Linked DNA regions of Homo sapiens: regions 1, 3, 4, 5, 6 and 7 are each linked to region 2. Evidence: promoter capture Hi-C in 16 types of primary human blood cells and fetal thymus (Javierre and others, 2016). All regions are on one chromosome and are shown on one strand. The core of a region is centred on a gene start or on the middle of the fragment in contact, and the rest is flanking DNA. Distances in the headings are between cores, read along the strand shown. Region 1 has its middle 5.0 kb from the start of LINC02707. Region 2 holds the start of APIP (APAF1 interacting protein). Region 3 overlaps SLC1A2 (solute carrier family 1 member 2). Region 4 holds the start of ELF5 (E74 like ETS transcription factor 5). Region 5 overlaps SLC1A2 (solute carrier family 1 member 2). Region 6 overlaps SLC1A2 (solute carrier family 1 member 2). Region 7 overlaps SLC1A2 (solute carrier family 1 member 2).

Evidence for each region. The method cuts DNA at HindIII sites, captures the fragments that hold promoters and counts their contacts. A CHiCAGO score of 5 or more calls a contact.
Region 1: a fragment that was not itself captured here is called in contact with the fragment with the promoter of APIP in region 2 in 3 of 17 cell types (M1 macrophages, megakaryocytes and M2 macrophages); the score reaches 7.1 in M1 macrophages.
Region 3: a fragment that was not itself captured here is called in contact with the fragment with the promoter of APIP in region 2 in 3 of 17 cell types (total CD8 T cells, M2 macrophages and non-activated CD4 T cells); the score reaches 6.5 in total CD8 T cells.
Region 4: a fragment that was not itself captured here is called in contact with the fragment with the promoter of APIP in region 2 in 1 of 17 cell types (megakaryocytes); the score reaches 5.3 in megakaryocytes.
Region 5: a contact is called between a fragment that was not itself captured here and the fragment with the promoter of APIP in region 2, in 16 of 17 cell types (activated CD4 T cells, non-activated CD4 T cells, naive CD8 T cells and 13 more). The highest score is 16.9, in activated CD4 T cells.
Region 6: a fragment that was not itself captured here is called in contact with the fragment with the promoter of APIP in region 2 in 16 of 17 cell types (naive CD8 T cells, activated CD4 T cells, non-activated CD4 T cells and 13 more); the score reaches 23.1 in naive CD8 T cells.
Region 7: a fragment that was not itself captured here is called in contact with the fragment with the promoter of APIP in region 2 in 10 of 17 cell types (non-activated CD4 T cells, activated CD4 T cells, naive CD8 T cells and 7 more); the score reaches 13.2 in non-activated CD4 T cells.

The regions. Positions count from the first base shown.
Region 1 is chr11:34,564,454-34,567,418 of GRCh38, forward strand. No RefSeq gene overlaps it. Among named protein-coding and RNA genes, the nearest start is that of LINC02707, 5.0 kb to the right of the region's middle. The HindIII fragment of the contact is 656 bases long and covers 1,003-1,658 here.
Region 2 is chr11:34,914,791-34,917,815 of GRCh38, forward strand. APIP (APAF1 interacting protein) reads right to left here and starts at 1,589. Exons shown (of 7, transcript NM_015957.4): 1 at 1,438-1,589. The coding sequence starts at 1,494. PDHX (pyruvate dehydrogenase complex component X) reads left to right here and starts at 1,828. Exons shown (of 11, transcript NM_003477.3): 1 at 1,828-2,025. The coding sequence starts at 1,866. RefSeq lists silencers at 1,250-1,589, 1,610-1,659 and an enhancer at 1,830-2,129. The HindIII fragment of the contact is 9,412 bases long and covers 1,065-3,025 here.
Region 3 is chr11:35,276,222-35,279,281 of GRCh38, forward strand. The region is part of intron 9 of SLC1A2 (solute carrier family 1 member 2); the gene reads right to left. Among named protein-coding and RNA genes, the nearest start is that of SLC1A2-AS1, 4.1 kb to the right of the region's middle. The HindIII fragment of the contact is 3,887 bases long and covers 1-3,060 here.
Region 4 is chr11:34,511,681-34,514,536 of GRCh38, forward strand. It overlaps ELF5 (E74 like ETS transcription factor 5), which reads right to left and starts at 2,114. Exons shown (of 7, transcript NM_001422.4): 1 at 1,997-2,114. The HindIII fragment of the contact is 861 bases long and covers 824-1,684 here.
Region 5 is chr11:35,350,329-35,353,356 of GRCh38, forward strand. All of the region lies in intron 1 of SLC1A2 (solute carrier family 1 member 2), which reads right to left. Among named protein-coding and RNA genes, the nearest start is that of SLC1A2-AS2, 67 kb to the right of the region's middle. The HindIII fragment of the contact is 2,713 bases long and covers 355-3,028 here.
Region 6 is chr11:35,375,821-35,379,098 of GRCh38, forward strand. The region is part of intron 1 of SLC1A2 (solute carrier family 1 member 2); the gene reads right to left. Among named protein-coding and RNA genes, the nearest start is that of SLC1A2-AS2, 42 kb to the right of the region's middle. The HindIII fragment of the contact is 4,207 bases long and covers 1-3,278 here.
Region 7 is chr11:35,327,428-35,330,629 of GRCh38, forward strand. The region is part of intron 1 of SLC1A2 (solute carrier family 1 member 2); the gene reads right to left. Among named protein-coding and RNA genes, the nearest start is that of SLC1A2-AS1, 47 kb to the left of the region's middle. RefSeq lists an enhancer at 2,959-3,202. The HindIII fragment of the contact is 2,961 bases long and covers 391-3,202 here.

The DNA.
Region 1 (2,965 bases), core at 81-2,580, 350 kb before region 2:
TCAGGAGGAAATAACATACCTGATGAATTTCTTCACTCAAGGTGTTAGGAGCTTAATGTGTTTCCCCCGCCCCCCGCACCAAGAGAATTTGTGTTTTCCAAGACAGTCAGAGAGTGGGTGGTGCTGAACTCAAAGGAGTGAATCACTAATAGTGGAATCCCAGGCATTCAGGGAGGTCCTATTTCTGGGGTGGGTTCCTTCCTGACACTTCATTTTCTACAAAGGTGGCAGCCACCTATTGTCTCCAGAAAGGAGGCTGTCCCTGTGGGTGTGGTGACGGTGGGAAAGGAGAGGCACCTGCAGGCTGAAGCCAAGATCACCTGATTTTCAAAACCAAATCTGTCCCTACAAAGGAGAAGTGGCTTAAAAATCCACACAGCCTCCCGAGTGGAGGGAAGAATTCCCTCTCCTCTCTGGAACAGGGTTCCCTTCACCCAGAACACGGTGCTGTTGTTATGCAATGTCCCTGTTGGCAAAGATATTTGAGCCCCTTGTTTTCAGGTCTGTGTCATTTCCAAGAAAGAGCTGTGGCCTTTGAGTAGGACTGGGCTCCTGAATAGGGTCCCTGGTGCCAAATGAGGGAGCCAAGAAAAGGCAGAGAAGAGGAAAGTCCTGACTTTTACATGAAGATGAGACAGCCAGCCCTGTGGCAGCCAGATGGCAGTCCTGTTGCTCTGTAGTGGCCTTGGGGTCAGACTAGGGGCAGAGCTGGGCTGAAGGCAGGAAGGCCAGGACAAGACAGGTGAGAAGGGCAAAGTCTCCTGTAACCTGGTGAGAAAATGTGGGCTAAGCCATTCTCATCTGGAGCTGAAGGCTTGGTGGAGAATGGCCCTCAACATTCAAGTTCACACCCATGGATTTATAAAAGGCAGGGCTGGGGGGAAAGGTTTTTCCCATTATACTTAATAACATTATCAACAACAATAATCACTACTATCATTTATTGAGCATTGACTCAAAAGACAGTCCTTTTATGAAAATTATTTACTTAAATCCTTACAAAGCTTCTATTCATTCACCCAACACATATTTATTGAGTTCCTACTATGAGCCAGGCATTATTCTAGGTGCTTAATTTAGATCAAGGGACAAGACAGACAAAATCCCTGTTCTGGTGGCAGGGCTACTACATGCAATTAACAGCACACAACTCTAGGGGGAGCCACATACATGGGCCACCTTATGAATGGTGTGCCCTGAGGTTAAGCATCCTGGCAGCCCCTTTCTGTGACATTTGCATTCTAGTGAAGGGAGTCTAATACCAATGAAGTAGATGTCATTATCCCCTGACTACAGTTTAGGAAACAGAGACACATAGGAATTAAGTAACTTGCTGAGTTTTTCAGCCAAAAATGACTGACCCATGATTTATACTGAAGTCAGTCCTTGCAATTCACCTGTGCCACGTACTTGCCTTTCTCTCCCTGGTGGGCACAGGGAAGAGGGAGTAGCCAGGCTGGCCAGATGAGTGCTGGGCTGGCTGGCCCAGTAGAGGCACCATGTCCTGACTGGGTGGACAAAGACTGGGTAGGAGGTAACAGAGAATCCCTTGGTGAGTCTAACTTAGCTATAAGAAGGCTTGCTGAGAGCAGCTGCCTCCATGCAGAGGGTGGGGTGACCGGCCTTTAATCCTTCCCAGCTGAGGATTTAGTCAAAGAAGCTTGTCTCTGGGGATAGCCTATGGTCTTGAAGGGCCTGAGTTAGCTATTAGTTCACCCATTTATTTAACATTCATTCATTATTTTTAAAAAATTTCCTAGCTATGTTTGGGGGCAGAGAAGTGGGTCCAGAGACCTAGAGGTTTGCAAGGGTAGCTTCTAAACTCCTTTGGTTCAGAACAGAATAGAAAGTGTCCTCGGGTGACCTTGGGTCTGCTTCCCAAGCAAATTGAGCATACGCAGCCAGAACAAAGACTGCACTCTACTCTAGTGAGCTCAGCCTGCTAGGCTTGGATCTAGATTTTATAGCAATAAGCTTGGAGTCTCACCTTTGGGTCAGACAGAGTACTACCCCAGACATGAGGTAGGGAGAGCCTAGTCTATATTCCTCTGCCTTTGTCCAAGCCTGCTTTGTCCTTCCTCTTGACGAGGAATAAAGATGGCTTCTGGGTGTGCATCCCCTTCCTTCTTCCACCTGCAGATGTACCTGTTTGTGTGCAGTGGGCTTCTGAGTCCTGGGCAGGGATGCCAGAGACCGCAAGCCAGATGCTTGGGATGCCAATCCTTGGGACTTTGAGGAGAAAGAGAGGTTCTGAGGGGCATCTGTCTATGGCACAGAGTCAAATGGAACACATGGAAGTCCCTTAGAAGGCTGGTATCTAAGTGTTGGCCACACAATGTCCGTTCTTCCTCCATTATTTGAATTTCTCCTTCTCTATCCTTCTATCTTTCTTGGCACCTTGAGCCAGGTCTGGGGTGAGAGAAGGGATGGTGTAGGTGAATTAGTGGTAGTTATTGGAGGAAGGCAATAAACCCAGAAAAAGTGTCACGTGACTTCTTTCTTGGGCCCAGTGTGACGCTTCTAGTTAGGCTAACGTGGGTCTTGGGACTGTTCCTGAGATTTTGTGGAAAACTCTTTGTATTTGTGCTGGTAACAGAAGGAAACCAGAGTTAGGGCTGGTGGGATGAAGCAGTGGGAACACTGATTTCTCCTTTTTTTCAGATTCAGGGATTTCTGTCAGAGACATCCGTGGGGGAGGGATGGGATTGGGAGTGAGGAGAATCCCTTTCCTCTCCTCTCACCATCTGGTGGTCCCCGTGCCCACGCACCAGCTCGTTGGATGGACATTTTGATTCCCTTAAGATGTACATTCTTCAAATCATTGTTTGTCATTAGCTCCCTGGAGAAAATGGAGGGGCTGAGATATTAGTGAGAAAACATAAAGTTAATTGGGTGATGGAGACTGGGAGAAGGGGAATGTTAGAAGAAAGTGAGCGAGGTCTGCTAAAAGTGAACTTTATCTTCT
Region 2 (3,025 bases), core at 339-2,838:
ATAACGAGTTCGAGACCAGCCTGGCCAACATGGTGAAACCCAGTCTCTACTAAAAATACAAAAATTAACTGGGTGTGGTGACATGCGCCTGTAATCCCAGCTACTTGGGAGGCTGAGGCAGGAAAATCGCTTGAACCAAGGAGGCAGAAGTTGCAGTGAGCTGAGATCACGCCACTGCACTCCAGCCTGGGCAACAAGAGCAAAACGTGTCAAAAAAAAAAAAAAAAAAAAAAAAAGGTTGGCTCAAATTTTTCATGAACATTGAGTGCAGCAAAAAAAAAACATGCCTGTCCACCAAGCTGTCTGTGGGCCATGTTTGGTTTGAGAATCCTAGTTTATTCTCGGGTCCCTTAAGGCTCTCTTTGATGCTCATTCTGATGACATTACACTAAGATTTACTGATTGAGGGTACGGACACTTCTCCATACACACTTGCCCAGGAACGATCTCCAGTTACCTGTCCTGTCTCCAAGATCTTCTCTCTCTCATCCAATCTTGCCTATGCAGCATTCTATTTTCAGAGTCGTCTTTGCTAATTTGGGGAAGTCACTTATTCAAACAAGAAAGTGGTTGACAAATGTTTAGCAATGAAATCTCCCGCGAGTTACTACTTTTTAATTAGGATTTTCAACCCTAAGAAAGATATAGATAGGAGGAATAAGATAGGGGGAATAAGGAAACTAATTTTGAGGGGTTTCCCTGCCTCTTAGGTGGGGTTTATCATATTGTGCTGAAACTGCTTATTCGTCTAGTTCTCCAGACCCTGGGCCATTTATCTTACGTATCCCTATCTCTGAGCGTGTAGAAGGCGCTCCATAAAACTGTTGGTTTGTGTAAATGACCGAAAACTACATGCAGCGTGAGGGTGGATTTCCCTTTGACTTCGGCTTAAGGAAGAATCGTTCCCATGATCATCCCACAATTCATCTAAACGGAGATAGGCAAGGAGCAACTGCTCAAAGGCAAAGCGCTGGCAGCTGAGGCACAGCTCCGGTTCGGCAAACGTCTCCCGAGTGCCAAACGTCCCCCCAAACGCCTAACTGGTCGTCAGGGCGCAGAAAAGAAGCTTGGGGGGCGCGGTCTTCGCCCCAGCTCCACTTCGGTGCTTCACGATTCCTTCTCTGGCCTGCCTTCCTGATAAATACCCGGTGAGGTCACCTAAACGCTCTCCTCTCTCAGTTATTTGCTTCTTTCCAACGTTTGGCGCCCAGCTCCCGCCATCGGAGCGCCCCGCCCGAGACCACTGATCTCCTGGGGCCTCGCAGCCTTGCTTCCGAACGCCAAGGTCGCGGTGCGCCGGGGTAGCGAACGGCCAGGCCCGAAACCCCGCCCCGCAGCTAAACGCCCGGCCCGCTACCCTGCGCCCAGCTCCAGCCGCCGGGTCCCGCCTGGGCCTCTCCTCCTGGGAATACCGGGCACCGGTGGCCCCGCCCCTACCTGCGCGCCGCATCTCCGGGAACAACAGTCTCCCTCCCGAGCATCACAGCCAGACATGGCCCAGACCAGGGACCCGCGCGGCCTCCAATCTCCGCACGGCTTTGCGCGCGGCGCTTAGCCTGGGATACGGCAGCGAGGCCGCAAATGCAATCAGGCGGCGCTGAGGGCAGCCCGGGGGCGGGGCGAACGGGGCGGGGGCCGGGGTCTGGTAAGGCCCCGCCGGCTGAGATATCCAGCGGCGCACCTGACTTCCCGGGAGGCAAGGCCAACGTGGTTGGAGGCGGGGCTGGGTTGGGGGGCGGGGGTTCAAGTCTGAGAGACCTAAAGGCACCGCTAGCGTCTGGGGGCGTGGCCAACCATGCGGGAGGCGGGGCCTTGATGCTGGACATCAGGCTGTGCTGCGGGCAGCCAGTGAGAAGGCCGTCAAGATGGCGGCCTCCTGGAGGCTGGGCTGTGATCCGCGGCTGCTGCGTTATCTTGTGGGCTTCCCCGGCCGCCGAAGCGTAGGGCTGGTGAAGGGGGCTCTTGGGTGGTCTGTAAGCCGCGGAGCTAATTGGAGATGGTTTCACAGCACGCAGTGGCTTCGGGGTGAGTGGCCGGGGCTCGCTCAGCTTCTCTGTGTAGCTGAGTGATGGGCCTGGGACAGGGGCAGTTATGATTGAGGGCCTGCTTTTGGGTGTGAAGGTGCGCGGGCTCCTTATTCCCTTTCCTCTTTCTCCGGTTGGGGTCCGCCGACTTGGCCTAATGCATGCTGTGAAGGGCTTTCTTGGCAGCTGAGAGAACTCGACTCTGCCCTAGGCCCCCTGGTTTGTATGGCTTTGTGACCTTGCCTTGGAATTTGGGTTATTTGTGAGGCGCAGAGAGGGTTCCCAAACTCTCCTCCCTCAGCCCCCTTTCCAATCAAGGCTCAGGTTTCTTTAGGGTTGTCAAACGTCTCGGACGAGAAAAAGCTGCCCAAGGTTGCCGAGATTGAAAAGCCACTGTTGGGAGTTCTTACTTATTCTCTAGGCCTCTCTCTGTTAGGAGGTGTTTTCATTGAGGCCAGTCGAGTTTTACCCCACGCCATGACTCGTGGAAGACTTAAATTTGTAAATTCCTACGGCATCACGATAGACAAAGGTCCAGGAGAATGTTTCAAGCAAATATTCGCTTGAAAGAGCAAACATTTAGGAGATAAATCATACCAAAAATTTATTATAGAAAATTGTTGTTTAGTAATGATATTGATGCAGTTAACACAATTCTTGCAGTATTTAACAGTATGCAAAATGGCAGGCCGGGTATTATTTTTCCTTATTTTGGGAGAAGGTTGGAGGGAGGCGGGGATGGAGAATAGGACTGACGTTTTTTAGTGTGACGTATTACCTGCCAATCATCGTTCCTGGCACTCTACAGAATGAATTTTAATTTAAATAGGTCTAGTAGACGTTGCCTTCATATTCTGAGCTACCTTAGGCTCAGAAAAAAAAAATCACACAAAGTCATATGGTAAGATGAGTGTATTGGGGTTCCTAAAGGTTCCTTAATGGGAACAATTTATTTCATTTTTGGTGTAATGTTTCATAACATATTCCTTGGAGCAGAGGTG
Region 3 (3,060 bases), core at 224-2,723, 360 kb after region 2:
AAGTCACTTGCCCAAGGTCCTTTAGATAGTAAGTGCAGAGCTCAGACTGAGGGCTCCTGCCTCTTAGACTCTCTTTCCCTTGATCACACTCCTCCCTCCATTTGAGATCAGAGCCCCAGAACTGGACAACAGCTCTTCATTTGCTCCTTTCTTCCCAGCTCCAGCCTAGGATGGGGTTTTCTATTATATGATTTCATCAACATAGTTAATCCAAATGTATCATCCTTTTTAAAAAAAAAAAAAAATTCAGCCAACTCCCTTCTGCTGACACACTTCAGCCCTGGAGTTAGGACGCTCTGCTTTCCTTTGCAAGTGTAAGCATGTGAGCACCTGCATGGGGTGATCTGGGAGGGCCCAGCCCTCCTGTTTCATTTGCTAACATTTAGGTCAGAAGTAGGCAGGGTTTTGAATGTTTCATGAAGTGACTCACATCCAACAGGCTTGAAAACAAGTGACTGCCAAGGACCAGGACCTACAATGGCAGACCCACTGGGGCTGGAAGACTTGAATTCTAAGGGTGGCCAAGACCTTGATTGTACCCCATTTGTCCTCATTGAGCCTATTTGTTTTATTTTCATGCTGAGAGAAGAAAAAAATAGGTCAAAAATATTTCTCTGGTTAGCATGCAGAATCAGGTGTGTCTTAGTCTGTGCTGCTATAGCAAAATACTTGAGATTGGGTAATTTATATAGAACAGAAATTTATTTCCTCAGAATTCTGGAGGTTGGGAAATCCAAGATCAAGAAACTGGTATCTGGTAAGGGCCTTCTTTCTGCATCATGACATAGCAGAAGGCAGAAAGACAAAGAGAGGGCAAGAAGGGGCTGAATTCACCCTTTTATAATGCACCAACCCCACTCATGAGGGTGGAGCCTTCACGATATAATCACCTTTTAAAGGCCACACCTCTTAATATTGTTACAATGGCAATTAAACGTCAACATGAGTTTTGGACTGGACAAATATTCAAACCATAGCCCAGTGGGTGGCCCTAATAAGTGTGTCTTCTCCAACCGTTCCAACTCTGGGCCTCTCTGCTCCTCCTCCCCACTGTTAGAACACTTAGTACAAATTAGGAGGCTGTGTGGAGTTGGGTGAAGTGTCCTGACCTGGCCATACAAGCTCTGCTGTGCATCAGGCAAAAGACTCAACCCTTCTGATTCCCAGTTTTCTCATCTGGAAATACAGCATAGGGCACCTTAAGGATTAAATGGAGACAGATGTAAAGACATTGCAGTACCCACCAAATATCACCCCTTTTCCTCACTCCTGATCATATTAGTGCATTTTTTTCCACTCAAAGGCATTTGTATTATAATGGGGGGCAGCCTCTATAATAATATTTTTTAAAAAGATGAATTTCTAATGGTGGTTTAAAGCCTTGGAAATAAGCCCAAGAAAAAAATGAGGCAATATTGTCACAGCAGGCGAGGGACCCTCAATGACCACAAGCATTGAAAAGACTTGAGAGGCAAAGAGTCAAGGGTTTAAGTAAGCAACAAGTCATGGGGAAAGCCAGCAGAACTTAAATGGCTTCCTTCGTCTTTCTTTTCATGTGGATGGACCCAATTATCACACAGCAACTATGTGGTTAAGAGTAGCTCACATTTATTGAGCTGCTACTATTTGCTCTGTCTCTAGACCACTGCCAATGTCTTTATTTCCCTTTTGTCCCCCTTCCATCCATGGCCTACCCCATTCCTTTGTATCCTTCATCCCCTTCTCTCACAATCCTTCTCACCCATACACCACCATTGACTCTCAGCTGCCTTGTCTGAACAGATGTCATGAGAAAGGCTGTCCCTTGGGGCCAATATAGGACACAGAGAATAACCAAGCTAGCAGGTAGGGACGCCACTACCACCACCTGAGAGACTGGCAGAGACAGAGATGAGGCTATTTTGTTTGCTTGTCACCTTCCGCTAAAGGTATTTCCTGAGCATTTTCTGATGATGAAGGAGCCAATCAGGAAAATCTATGGCCTTCCTTGCAGCCCTCCCAAGTTGAACTGATTCTGTTCAGGGAGCCACTTCTTACTTCTGTTTTTTTTTGTTTTTTTTTTTTTTTTTTTTAGATGGAGTTTCACTCTTGTTGCCCAGGCTGGAGTGCAATGGCACGATCTCAGCTCACTGCAACCTCCGCCTCCCAGGTTCAAGTGATTCTCCTGCCTTAGCCTCCCAAGTAGCTGGGATTACGGGCATATGCCACCACACCTGGCTAATTATTTTTGCATTTTTGGTAGAGACGGGGTTTCTCCATGTTGTTCAGGCTGGTCTTGAACTCCCGACCTCAGGTGATCTGCCCGCTTCAGCCTCCCAAAGTGCTGGGCACTTCTTATTTCTAACCTAAGCCCTGTTGTCTGCACCAACAGCAGGCACATCTTATGGAGAAGTCAGGCTTCTTTCTAGCCTTCCCAGCTGTCCTTCCTCCCTTCGGCCACTTGCATTTTCCTCTCTTTGGAAGGGTGGGAGTGGGAAGCAGAAACAGACTCAAGTCCACAAAATGTGGCTTCTGAGGCTGGGCACAGTGGCTCACCCGTGTAATCTCAGCACTGTGGGAGGCTGAGGTGGGCCGATCACTTGAGGTCAGGAGTTTGAGACCAGCCTGACCAACATAGTGAAACCCTGTCTCTACTAAAAATACAAAAATTAGCCGGGTGTGGTGGCACATGCCTGTAGTCCCAGCTACTTAGGAGGCTGAGGCCGGAGAAATGCTTGAACCCAGGAGGCAGAGGTTGCAGTGAGCCAAGATCGCACCACTGCACTCCATCCTGGGCAACAGAGCAAGACTCCATCTGAAAAAAAAGAAAAATGTGGTTTCTGGCTCTTAAAATCAATGCCAATAAATGTCAGAAAATTTGCTACTGGCAAGTCAGGCAGTTTGAAAAATAAGTGTGGGCACTTTGGCCTTGGGACTCTGGGCCAGCACTTGTCACTCTGTGCCTCTGACATTGAAGACTGGCATTGCCGGAGGCCCTATCATTTAACTCCAGTGCTGGACAGGAGGCATCAGATTACATCTCACAGAACATCCAAGCCCAAGTGGGCACTTAGAGGGGAT
Region 4 (2,856 bases), core at 4-2,503, 400 kb before region 2:
GGCTTCTCAGTGTCACACAAATCAGAGGCAGCAATAACAGGTGTGGCTCCCATGGCCTGAGCAACCCGGCACCCCTGCTCAGCCTCCCAGAGAGAGGGGAAGGAGCAAACCACTCAGCCTTGGCCAGTTTGCCAGAGGAGGAAAATTCCTTCCTGACTCTGGTGGTGATCATCAACTTCACTCTGGGCATGTGACCAAAAATTGGCCCAATTAAGCATCTACACATTGGCTGTTTACGGGCCAAATCATCACTGGGCAGAACTAGGCCATAGGGTGCAAAATATAGAAAAAAGTGGCCAAGATTGGGCTTCCTCAACCCCACCCTCTGAGTGGTATCATTGGGAAGAAAATCGGTTTTCCTTCCTTAAAGCCTCAGTGATACCCAAATGTCCACTCCGTCCCAAGACTTGTGAGCAAGGGAGGGTCAATTTCCCAGCCCTTGGACCTCCCTAAGAAGGGGCCCACTGAGGAGAACCCAGTGGAGTATTTCAACACTTACTGCTAAAGAAAGATTGAGGGTTGGGTGCTTGAGGGTTTGTTCTTCTGAGAGGAACCCTAGCAACTGTGAGAACCAATTTGCTGACCTCTTGTCAAGTGATTCCTCATTTTTCTTTAGCTCGCTTAGGGAGTTTGCGTGTTTGTTTGTTTGTAGCTGTTTTTCTGAAGGTGCAGCGAAGATCCAAAAAGGTATGCCATGTAGTTTGCTGTAGGCTTCGATGCAAAGCTTACCAGTTTTGGATTACATATATCAGGGGTTAAATCCTACCTCTGCTGCTGCGAACGTGGGGCACATTTCTTACTACCCAGACTGCTGAAATTCTTAAGCTTTTTTTCATATAGATGTGGTATATAAATATTCATGCCCCTCTTCGAACTACGGTTTCCTCATCTCTAAAATGGGGATTTTTTTTTTTTTAAATCATGCAATCCGATATATGCAAAGGACGGGGCATAATACATATATTCAATCCTGTTTTAGAGGGAAAAATCAGCCATCAACAATGTATCTAAAAATTTGCCACTCTGGTGACTTCTGAAAAAGGGAGATGACCAAACTGAAAACTCCGGCCCGAGAATACCTTAGATTATGAAAAACAGTATTGCAGAGAACACGAAGACAACAGAATCAAGCGTTCACTCGGATGGGCAAACCACCCCTTTCCCTGGGTCTCTGGACTAGACTGAACCACAGAGCTGCCTCCCTAAGTCATCTAGCCTTTCTGGCCTCAGTTTCCTCATCTGTAACATGAAGCGATTGCACCTAGTGATGTCTGACACACTTTCGGGCGTACAAAAGGCATCCACACGCAGGCCCGGCTTCAGCCTGAGGAGGGAGCTTGTGCTACCTGTCGCTGTCAGCAGGGGGCAACCCCACAGAAACCCCACACACTGCAGAGTCTGACAAGGCCTGAGAACACAGTGGAAAAACGCTAACCATTGCTTTTCTGGAAGCATTCTCTTCTGGGGAGATGTCAGAGGGCAAATGGGTTTCTTTTAAAACTGTTTTGTACAAATTCCTGAAAATGCCCCAAACTATAATAAGGGAGTTCTCTGTATCGAGGGGGTGGGGGACAGTGGGCAGGCCGGTGGGGAAAGGAATTCAGTCAGGGGAGAAGGGTAGGTGGGGGGCTTTCCTTGAAGCTGAATATTTTTCTGAGTAAAATCCAGCTTCCCTTCCTAAAGAAGCTTTAGGGAGGATAGAGAACTGAGCGCCTGGGCGCGTTCTCTTAATTCCCCTTGGTTCAGCTAAGGGATCCAGAGGGAGTGGTGGCTGTGAGGAGGGCTGGTGGCCACACGGCCTGCGGAGGCAAGCAGGTCTCTCTGAGGCAAGCCGTCACATCCGTGTCAAACAGCTCCCGGAGGCCCTGGGACTGCACCCAGCGCAGGTGCCGGCCCTGGAGCTGGAGATGGACGAGCAGACCCAGGCCCCAGGCCGAGCCTCTGAGCCCTGACACCCCTTACGATTCATCCAAAAAAGCAAAGAAAAGGCGCTTACGTGAGGGCAGCGGTGGCTAGGTCCAAAGAGGAGGCTTTCAAGGCAAGAGAAGGCAGGCGCTCCCAGCACCAGCGTGCAGTGGAAATAAAGACACCTGTAGCCTTGTGATATAAGTGACACCTACAGACAGGTCCGTTTGGTTTTTCAGGTTTACGCACAGCCCCTTTGATGACGGTGACATACAGTGTGACACGGCTCCTTGGAGGGGGGGAAATGGTTCTCATATGCAGAAAGTTTACCTTTATCCTGCTTTTGTGCGCAGCTCACCCCTGCCCTGCAACCCCCCACTCCCAGCCCAGGGGACTCAGTAAACAAGCAGAAAATTCTTGTCCCTGGGAGCTGTGCGGGGATCGTGCGTTTGGTGAGGAATTTTCCTCTGTGCAAGCTGGAGGGGAAACACAGAGATTCCACCCTGGTGCCGGTCTGCGCTGCCTCTCTCCCAGGCTGGCTGAGCCCAGTGCTTTTGTAAGATCATGTCTTTCTCCGTTTTTCCCATGTGGTGAGAAGGAAGAGCATTATAGGCCCAGTGTTAAGACCTCAGGTTTTGCAGCTAGTTGCCTTTAGATTCAAATTCAGTGTCCATCATTTCCTAGCTGTGCTACCTAGAAAAATGTAGCTAACATCTCTGGGCTTCATGAGTGTAATGTAAGTGATGGGGCCTCTCCTCATGTGGATGCCAGCTCTCAGGTGTCTCGCTGAGAACTGCCCGCTTTTTAGTACTTCTTCGTGACAACAGAAACTCTGCCTAATTTAGGCTGCAAAGCACAGTGTCCCAGGTCATCTATGAGACAGGTATTTATAACCCTGTGCCTTTTTGCATTCTGCTTCTAGCCATCTTGGGCAGCCGAGATGTTGTATTC
Region 5 (3,028 bases), core at 461-2,960, 440 kb after region 2:
GGGATAGAAGATGGTGTCAAAATTTATTGAGCATTTATATTAAGTCCAGCATGGAGCTAGGCATTGTCACAGAGTTTGCCTCTTTTAATCCTTGCAACAACCCCAAAAGGTACAAATGTTTACCCCAGATTAGGGTGAGAAGGTAAAGAAGGGCTAAGGTTGTGAATCTTGCCCAAGGTCATATAACTAATAACATGCACAGCTGGGATTCAAACCCAGGTCTCTCCAGTCAACATATGCTGCTTCCTAGGTCCTGACTTGAGCCAGACCTTAACCCCAGGTATCTGGGGATCCTTCCGTAAAGACACAGCAAGATAAGATTTTATCTCAGCTTTTAAATTTGGGACTCTAAAAAGCTTGGCTGATGCAACAAACCCTTTGATGATTTATTTAAATACTTATAGCTGCAGCTGCCCATCAAGCCTGATTAGGAAGATGCCTGGGCTGAGATTGGAGCTGCTTGTTGGTCTGAACCCAAATCTCCTACCAGGCACTGAAGTGTCCTCAATTCATGGTCTGGAAAATGAAATGGAAGGAGCCTTAAGATTTCATTCTTCTGACTCCCCTAAACTTTAAATACACCTTCTCTCTGAGAGAACATATTAATACTAAAAGCCACCAATATTTTTACTTCCTTTTAAAGATTATCTTAAAGAGTGAACCCATCTACCCACTATCCTCATCCAATAGAATCAGCTGACCCAGTCCTTGTTGGAGAGATTAATAAAAATAATATACTAATGATGGCTAACATTCATTGAGTACTTACTCTGAGTCAGGTACTATCCTCCAATAACCCAGTGAAATACATAATACCATTAGTCCCACTTTATAAGTGAGAAAATTGAGGTTTAGAGGATTAGGTAGGCTAACCATGATCAGGCAACTGATTAGTGCCAGAGACAGAATCCAAGCCAGGAATGCTTTACTTACGAGCCCATGCTCTTCTCTCTGCATAATGCTCTCCCCAGTGAACTTCCCACTCCTTCTCTGCCTCCCAAAATGACCAGAACATCTCTGCTTTCCCAGACAGCATGTCAGTTTCTCCTGGGACCATGGATCCTGTCTGAAGAACACTCCAGACCAGAGCACTTTCCTACTGACATGGACGTGTGTTCTCCCAGATACTTCACCCCACTCAGCTCAGGCCCTAAGGAGGTTTATAAGCTAAAAACAGTCTGGTTTTCAAGTAATATTGAATGACCCCATCAGATACAGTATGATTGGGAGTATATTGTGTGTACATTTAAAAGGTAAGACAGAAAACTGCAGATATACTCTGATTATTATTTTATTTTTTATTTTTATTTATTTATTTATTTTTTGAGACAGAGTCTTGCTCTGTTGCCCAGGCCAGAGTGCAGTGGCACAATCTCGGCTCACTACAACCCTCTCCTCCCAGGCTCAAGCGATTCTCCTGCCTCAATCTCCTGAGTAGCTGGGACTACAGGTGCATGCCACTACGCCCTGTTAATTTTTGTATTTTTAGTAGAGACGGGGTTTCACCATATTGGCCAGGCTGGTCTCAAACTCCTGACATCATGATCCACCCACCTCATTCTCCCAAATTGGTGGGATTACAGGCGTGAGTCACCGCATCTGGCCCTGATCATAATTTTATAAAAATTGTACATTGCATCGAGAAAAAAGTGGACACAAAAGGTTCCTAGTGGCTATCTGTGAATGATAAGATGATGGATGGGTTTTTACTTCCTTATTGCTTCTTTCCTTTATGTTTCCAACTTTCTACAGCAAAAATGAAGCATTTTTATGATCAGAAACAAAGTTGCTAACTAAGCTGACTGACCAAAAAGGAAAAAAGTCCATATGACTCAGAGTAAAAACAAAGAACTACTTAATCTATAAGAAACTTTGTTGGCACATGTTCTGTCTTTTTGCTACTTACATACCATGCCCTGGTTATGAATCTCAAACTTCATCTAGTTCCACTTAGTTTTCCAGCCTGCTTCTGATGTTGAGTGAAGAATGTCAGTGTTGGGAGTGAATTACCTTAACACATCCACGGTCCCTTATCAGTCCAAGCCACAGCTTTCTGCAGAGGGAAGGTTTAATTACCAAAAGCTCTGTGACGCAGTTAGCACTATTTTTGGCTGGCAGGCAGGGCAGGTTAGTTCTTTATCCATCCCTGCCTTGGCTGAGCCCCAGAGGTCACAGACAGAGAGCATTTTCACCATCCCAAGGCCAAGCCCATCTTTCTAGAAGCCATTCCAATGCTGCCTCTTGAGAAAGCAGTAAGGCCCCAGTTCCCTTCTGCAAAGGAGTGGCACAATTTCTCCTCCTGATATTCTCACCCCTGTCTAGAATTGCAAGCTGTCTCAGGGCATGCTCACTGCACTGAGAGAGCTGCCCTTGTTTTGTAATACACCTTACTGGATACATTTCAGAGGGTTAGGTTGAGATGGTTGGCAGTGAGTTCATGCATGGCTAAACTGCACCATGCGAGAAATCAATGGGAACTCAAGGGATTGGGAATTAAGGAGCTGGGGAGAAAAGAGGGGAGGTTTGAGCAGGAAGCAAGAGATCCTATCAATGTGGTGGGGAAGCATGTGCCTGGGCAGCAGAGATGGCCAATGAAAACTGTCCCAGCAGTGACAACCAGAGACCTCAATATAAAAGCAATGACAATAATAGCAATAATCATTTCAAGACCGACTTTGAATTTTGATATCTTATGTCCTTGCTTCTAAGATAGGCTTTTTTTTTAAGATTTAACATTTCTGAAATTGGGATGCATATTATAGTCAATATCAACATTTATCTACTATAGTATGTCTCTTTTTACTTGAAAAACTATTATTACATTGTGAGTGCAATTTACAACTAAGGGTGACTTAGAATGGAGTGAATGTGGCTGTTTAGAAACCTTCTGATAGAGACAGATGGGGTTGGGATGACATTCTCCTTTTCTTGTCTCTTTGCTCTTAAGGTTTCCACTCCCCTAACCGTTCATACAAATGCACAGAAGCAATGCCTCAGCTTCTCTTCTTCACCTAGCAGACTCCTGCTC
Region 6 (3,278 bases), core at 613-3,112, 460 kb after region 2:
TACACACTTCATACTTCTACTTGATCTTCACCGTGACCCTAAGAATTGATTCTATTATTATCCCCAATTGGTAGACTAGGACATCAAGGCACAGAGAAGTCAAGTAACATTTGCAAAGTCACACAGCAGGTAAGTCACAGAGCCAGAAGCGGAATCCAGGCTGTCTGGCTCCACAGTCCATACTCCTAACCTCCAGTATCAGTAATAACCAGCCAGGCTAGTCTCAGAAATATCTAGACAATCTATTAGGCTTAAAAACTCCTATTTGTCACTGGATCCTTGGCCTAAACAGTAAAGTATGTTTAGTGCAGTCAATTAAAAGCTAGAAATGGAGAAAATATTAGACAATCCCAGATTGAGAGGTATTCTATTAAAAAAAAAAAAACCCTCTTTGAAAGTGTCAAGATCATGAAAAGACATGGAAAGACCGAGGAACTATCTCAGATGGGAGGAAGCTACAGAGACATGACAACTAAATGCAGTGCAGGACCTGGATTGGATCCTAGAACAGAGAGAGAACATTACTGGAAAAATATGAAATCCAAGTAAATTCTAGCAATTGTTGCAAAGTTAATTTCTTAGTTTCGATCAATGCTCTATGGTTATGTAATACGTACGATACCATTAAAGGAAGCTGAGGGAGGAGAATGTGGGAACTCTATGTATTATTTTTCCAATTCTTCTATAAGTCTAAAATTGTCTGAAATTTTTAAAAATTTTCAAAAGACAAAAAATGTAAATGAAAAAAGGATCAAAGCCACTGCCATTCTTGGGTTAAAAACCAACATGTTTATCTTTATAATTGTAACCAAATTATCCTGTTTCCACTTATGTATGTGAATAATTACTCATCTTGATTTAACATTATATCTGTTTTCAATTGTGAATAATAATTTTTTTTAAGCCGGCAATGGTTACATTTAGACACCTGGATCTGCTTCAGAAAAAAAAGCAAAAACAAAAACCAGATTACTTCCACATGCTTCAAGATATGAATCTATCATCTCCCCCTCTCTTTGACTCATATCCTCAATGTCGCTATTCGACAAATTTCCTCAACCCCTGCACATTGATGGAAGCTGCTAGGAAAAGCCTGGATCACTTGGAGGTTGAAGGTCATTTTGTAGCCAGCAGTGAGCTTCCAGAAATGCAGCTGGTACTATAACCACTGAGGAATGAGCAGGCCAAGTGTCTTCATGAAGATCAGAATGGCTGACAGGCAGAATGGTAAAGCAGAAATAGGTGTATGTCCCCCCTTCCAATGTGCGGGGCACTGACGTAAACACTCTATCCCCATTAACTCATTTAGCGCTCACTACATCCTTAGGAGGAAGGAGCCATTAATATTATTCCCATCTCACAGATCAGGAAATTGAAGGTCAGAGGGGTTAAGCAACTTCCCAAGGATGTACAGCAAGTCAGCAGTAAAGTTGGGATAGAGAATGGAAACCACGTGTCTCAAGAGACTGTAGGCATCTTTTTCCTTTTCAAACTTTCTTGTTTCAACCAATATTGGACTGGCTATCTCTGTCAAATCATCCCTGGTTTGTTCTCAACTCAGAGAGTGGGCTGCAGGTCAGCCAGATGAATGCCACAGAGCATGCACTGTGTAACAGATGCTCTACACCCGTCATTCCATCTGTTCGTTACCAAAGGGGGATGATGATCAACTCTATTTTCGTGAGATAACTGAGGCTCAGAAAGGCTAAGGAACTTGTCCAGCACCAGAGAGCTAAGTGGCTATGTCAGAACTTAAGCCCACACATCCCTGATGGCCGAGGTCTGTGCTCTCTTCATTCATTCTATTTCCAAGGAAGACTCGCAAGATGAAAAAAAATCATCAAGTAGATACCAAGAAAGGAACCTCCCAACAACCCCTAAAAAGTAAGCTGCAAAGATAGGCCTGAATAGGCATATTCATGCTGATTATTCCATTGACTTTGCCTGTCGTATTTGTCAAATCCAGATAATTCAGACCCTGAACAGAAAGAAACGTTTTTGTTTTGTTTTCTCATTTTACATACTGACATGTTCTAGCTTATCTAGAAAATTGCAAGCATTCTTTTTCTTTATCCCAGTGTTGGCTTTTCTTTAAGAAACACAGATTCACAACCTATTTCACTAACTGGCCATTGATAAATAAAAATACTTGCACATGGCAAATGGAAGCAACATTGTGCAGGAACTTGGAGGTTCCTTTAGTAGTTTCAGCCAGAAGAATAAAGCCATACAGAACCACACAAGCTCCCAGAAATCCAAACCCAGCTGATTGGTTTTACACTTGGAAACATAATCAGCACCACCACTGCCTCCCATCCCAAAAGCCCTTCCACAGTTACTAACTCCAAATTCTGAACGGGAAAAGCAATATGCAAATTTAGAAAAAGGCAGAACCCCCAGATCCTAAAGCCCAGGCTCAAATCACAGTGGCTTGATGCCTTTGCAAAGCATTACTTTAGGGACTGATTATTCTGAAACGTTGTTTGGGTGATGATACCCAAGACACCAGGGCCCTGCCTCCTGGGAAGACAGCAGTATTAGCTTGTGGCTGCATAGTAGACATCGTTCATCAAAAACAGAAGAAATACCAAGAAAAAATATTGATGCTAGCTGGTCTGAAGCAGTTTAAAATTGTCACAAACCTGCACTGATTTGTTAGCATCTTTATCTCTGAAAGCGCTCACCCTTATTCACATCAGCAATTTGTGTCTTTAGGAATAACTGAAAATTTTCATGAAAACTAAGAACCACCTAGTATAAGATTAAGAACCTTTCCAATGCATTGGAGACAAGAAGGACAGGGTGAAAAAATAAGTCTGCCTGTAACTGAAGCTCTCAATTGGATTGATAAGTCTTGTGCCTTGAACTTACTGCTCACAAAAGCAACAAGAGTGTGACAGGCAAGAGTGTCTCCAGACTAATATATAACCCGTGGTTCTCTTCAGTTAAGCTCTATGAATAGTTGTCTATAAGGATGCAGTTAAAGTTGGCAATACCTGGCCAGATTGGCAAGGATGCATAGCCAATGCGGCTAAATGTAGCTCATGGAAGGGGAAGGAGAAGATGGAGGGGTAAGTCTGAAGCTCCATTGTCTGTGAATTAAATGCATTAAAATTTGTGACACATGGCCAGGCGCAGTGACTCATGCCTGTAATCCCAGCACTTTGGGAGGCCGAGGGGGATGGATCACCTGAGGTCAGGAGTTCGAGACCAGCCTGGCCAACATGGAGAAACCCCATGTCTACTAAAAATACAAAAGTAGCCAGGCGTGGTGGTGA
Region 7 (3,202 bases), core at 621-3,120, 410 kb after region 2:
AGATGAGGCAAAACAGCGGGGCCTTAAGGTAGTCCAGGTTATAACAGAGTGACCTCACTGGCCAAAGAAGAAGTTTGTGGCCTTCATCTTCCTTCTACTCTTCCATGCCCATAACAGCAAAGAACTCTCATACATTTCCTTTCTTGTCTTCCATAACAGGAACCCAAGCAGACTCTTCTCCTTGTGTTCATCTTTCAATCGTAAATAATAACCAACATTTCATCAGTTTAACTTTCTAACAAATAAGCTAATAATAACATTTGTGTCATTTAAAAAGCGTTTTTGCATTCATCAAGAGTTAATGACATCCCGGAGAGGGAAGGATTATTCTATCTTAGAAATGAAAAGACAGAAGCTCCAGAAGATTCTGAAACTTGCCCAAGCTCATGAAGCTTGGAAGTAGCAGAGTTAAACCTGTGCTGTGGTTCTGCAGCAAAGTTAAACCTGTGCTGTCCTTTGCCTTTGAGTCCAGTGTTTTATGGGTATACTCTTTCTTGGGGTATTTACAGAGCAATGGACATGTTAGAACTACCATCTACACCAAGGCACTAGGTAGCTACTTATGAGACTTGCATTCTAGCACATGGAGAGGGAAGATAGAGAGAGGAAGTGCTGCTAAATGAGAGAAAAGGCAAAGTGAGCTCTGGGGAGCTATGGCCTTGTTGTCTGTCTTGGACAATATATGCTGCTGGTGCCATGGCCCCAGATGTACCATCATAAGAAAATGGCATCCACTCAACTGACTCCTCCCTTCAGGCAACGAGGGCACACAGGAACCATCCTATTCCCACTGACTCAGCCAGCACTTGCTGCTGTGAAATAACCTCAAGGGTTCACTCCAACTCTGGTTCTTCACCGGGAAGGACTCCCCCATCAGAGGGACCCTAATGTCTGGTAACTGGTAATAATAAGAATAATGATGGTGACAATAATGATGACAGCAGCTAACATTTACTCAAAACTAACTTCACACCAGGTATTTTTCTAAGTCTTCTTATATATGAACTTATTGATTTCTCACAATAACCTCAGGAGATAGGTACTACTATCAGCAACTTTTACTGAAGGAAAAATGAAGTCATTGAATGGTTAAGTTACTTGCTCAATGTCACAAAAGTAATGGATGGTAGAGCTAGGATTTGATCCCTGTCAGTCCTGGACTTGGAAAAACTGGTCAGCCCACTCTCCCTCCAGCCCGAGAAAACTTGCTCTTTATATTAGGCAATTTCATGCTAGCAATAGACATCGACACTGAACATTTGGCCAAAAGAGTGATTTTGCTGTTGGGGGATGGGAAGGATCCCAGAGAGAAGAAAGTTAACACCTAGTCCAAACCAGAGCCTGATCCAAGAGCTACATACAACAGTCATGGAACCCTAGAATTTCTGGACTAGAGAGTCTTCCTGTCCCCTCTCAGCCTCTGGACAAATGATTATCTGGTCTAGTGGCCCCAACTCTGTCTCTGGATCACTTGTTAAAAATACAGATCTCCAAAACTTATGTCCACACAAAACACTGCACAGGGATATTTATAGCAGCTTTATTTATAATTCCCAAAACTTGGAAGCAACCTAGACATCCTTCAGTGGGCAAATGGATAAACCATGGTACATGCAGACAATGCAATATTATTCAGCACTGAAAAGAAATGAACTATCTATCCAAAAAAAGACATGGAGGAAAAATAAATGCATATTACTAAGTGGGAGAAGCCAATTTGAAAAGGCTACATACTGTATGATTCCAACTATATGACATTCTGGAAAAGGCAAAACTATGGAGGGGCATGGTGCTGAATAGGTGAAGCACGGAGGATTTTTTAAGGCAATGAAAATACTTTGTATGTTACTATAATGGTAAATACACATCATCATACATTTGTCCAAACCCATGAATGTACAACACCAAGAGCCAACCCTAATGTAAACTAAGCACTCTGCATGATAATGAGGTATCAATGTAAGTTCATCGCTTGTGATAAATGTACCACTCTGGTGGGTGATGTTGACAGTTGGGGAGGCTGCACCTGAATGTGAGCAGGGGTATATGGGAACTCTCTGTACTTTCCACTCAATTTTCCTGTAAAACTAAAACTACTCTTTAAAAAACAGCATATTAAATAAAAACAAACAAAACAAAGCACAAAACAGATCTCCAAGCCCCATCCCTGAATATTCCAATTCATCACATCTGGATGGGGCCTAGACCTCTGGGCTTTTGCAAAAGCACCCAGATGACACTGTTGCAGCTAATCCACATACCAATGTCTGGTCAATGCCTGAACAGTTGCAGTGCAGGGCAGCTTATCACTTCTACTCTAACCATCCCGCCGTTGGATAGCTTTGACTATTAAGAAGCCCTTCCTTTATGGTGAGCCTATATCTGTTTCCCTGCAGCTTTTACCCACAGGTTATTTTTCTATCCTGTGGAGCTACCTAATAATAACAGTTGCCATCAGACAATGTACTGGATGCTTTACATGCATTATTTCATTGACTTCCCACAACACTCTCACAAGATAGCTACTATTATTAGTCCTTCTTTATAGATGAAAAACTGGAGGTCAGAGAGAGGAGCACATTTGCTCCAAGTCAGGCAGTTGGTGAGTAGATGAGCTGGGATGGCAACCCAGCTTGGCCTGAACAAGGTGCACACACTTAATCACGACACTTACAGAAAATGAAGCTGAATCCCTTCTCCATCTACCAACCTTTGAGGCATATGAAGTTTCTGCTCAGGGTTTTCTCTTCTCCCAAGTTTGTCACTATCCTGGTTAAAGCACCTCAAGCTACTTACTTGCCTGTGCCTCCCAGACCTGCACACAACCTTCCAGGTAAGGGCTGGTCACTTCCCCACTCCCCTAAGCCCATCAAAGACTGCCTTTCTCACTTTCAACCTCCAGCACGTCAGATTCTACCAGAGCTGAGGCTTCTGCCCTGCCTTTGAAAAACTGAAGGGCATAGGTAATTTCACAGTAGAGAAAGAAGGTGGTAGGGAGTACTGGTAATGAATAGAACCATTTATTGACTTTTTATTCTGTACCAGTGATAGGTAGAGTAATGCCCCAACAAATGTCCATGTCCTAATCCCCAGAACCTGTGGATGTGTCAGATTACATGGCAAAGGGGCTCTAAGGCTGCAGTTGCAAAGAAGGTTGCTAATCAGCTGACCTCAAGATAGGGAGATGCGCCTGAATTCTCCA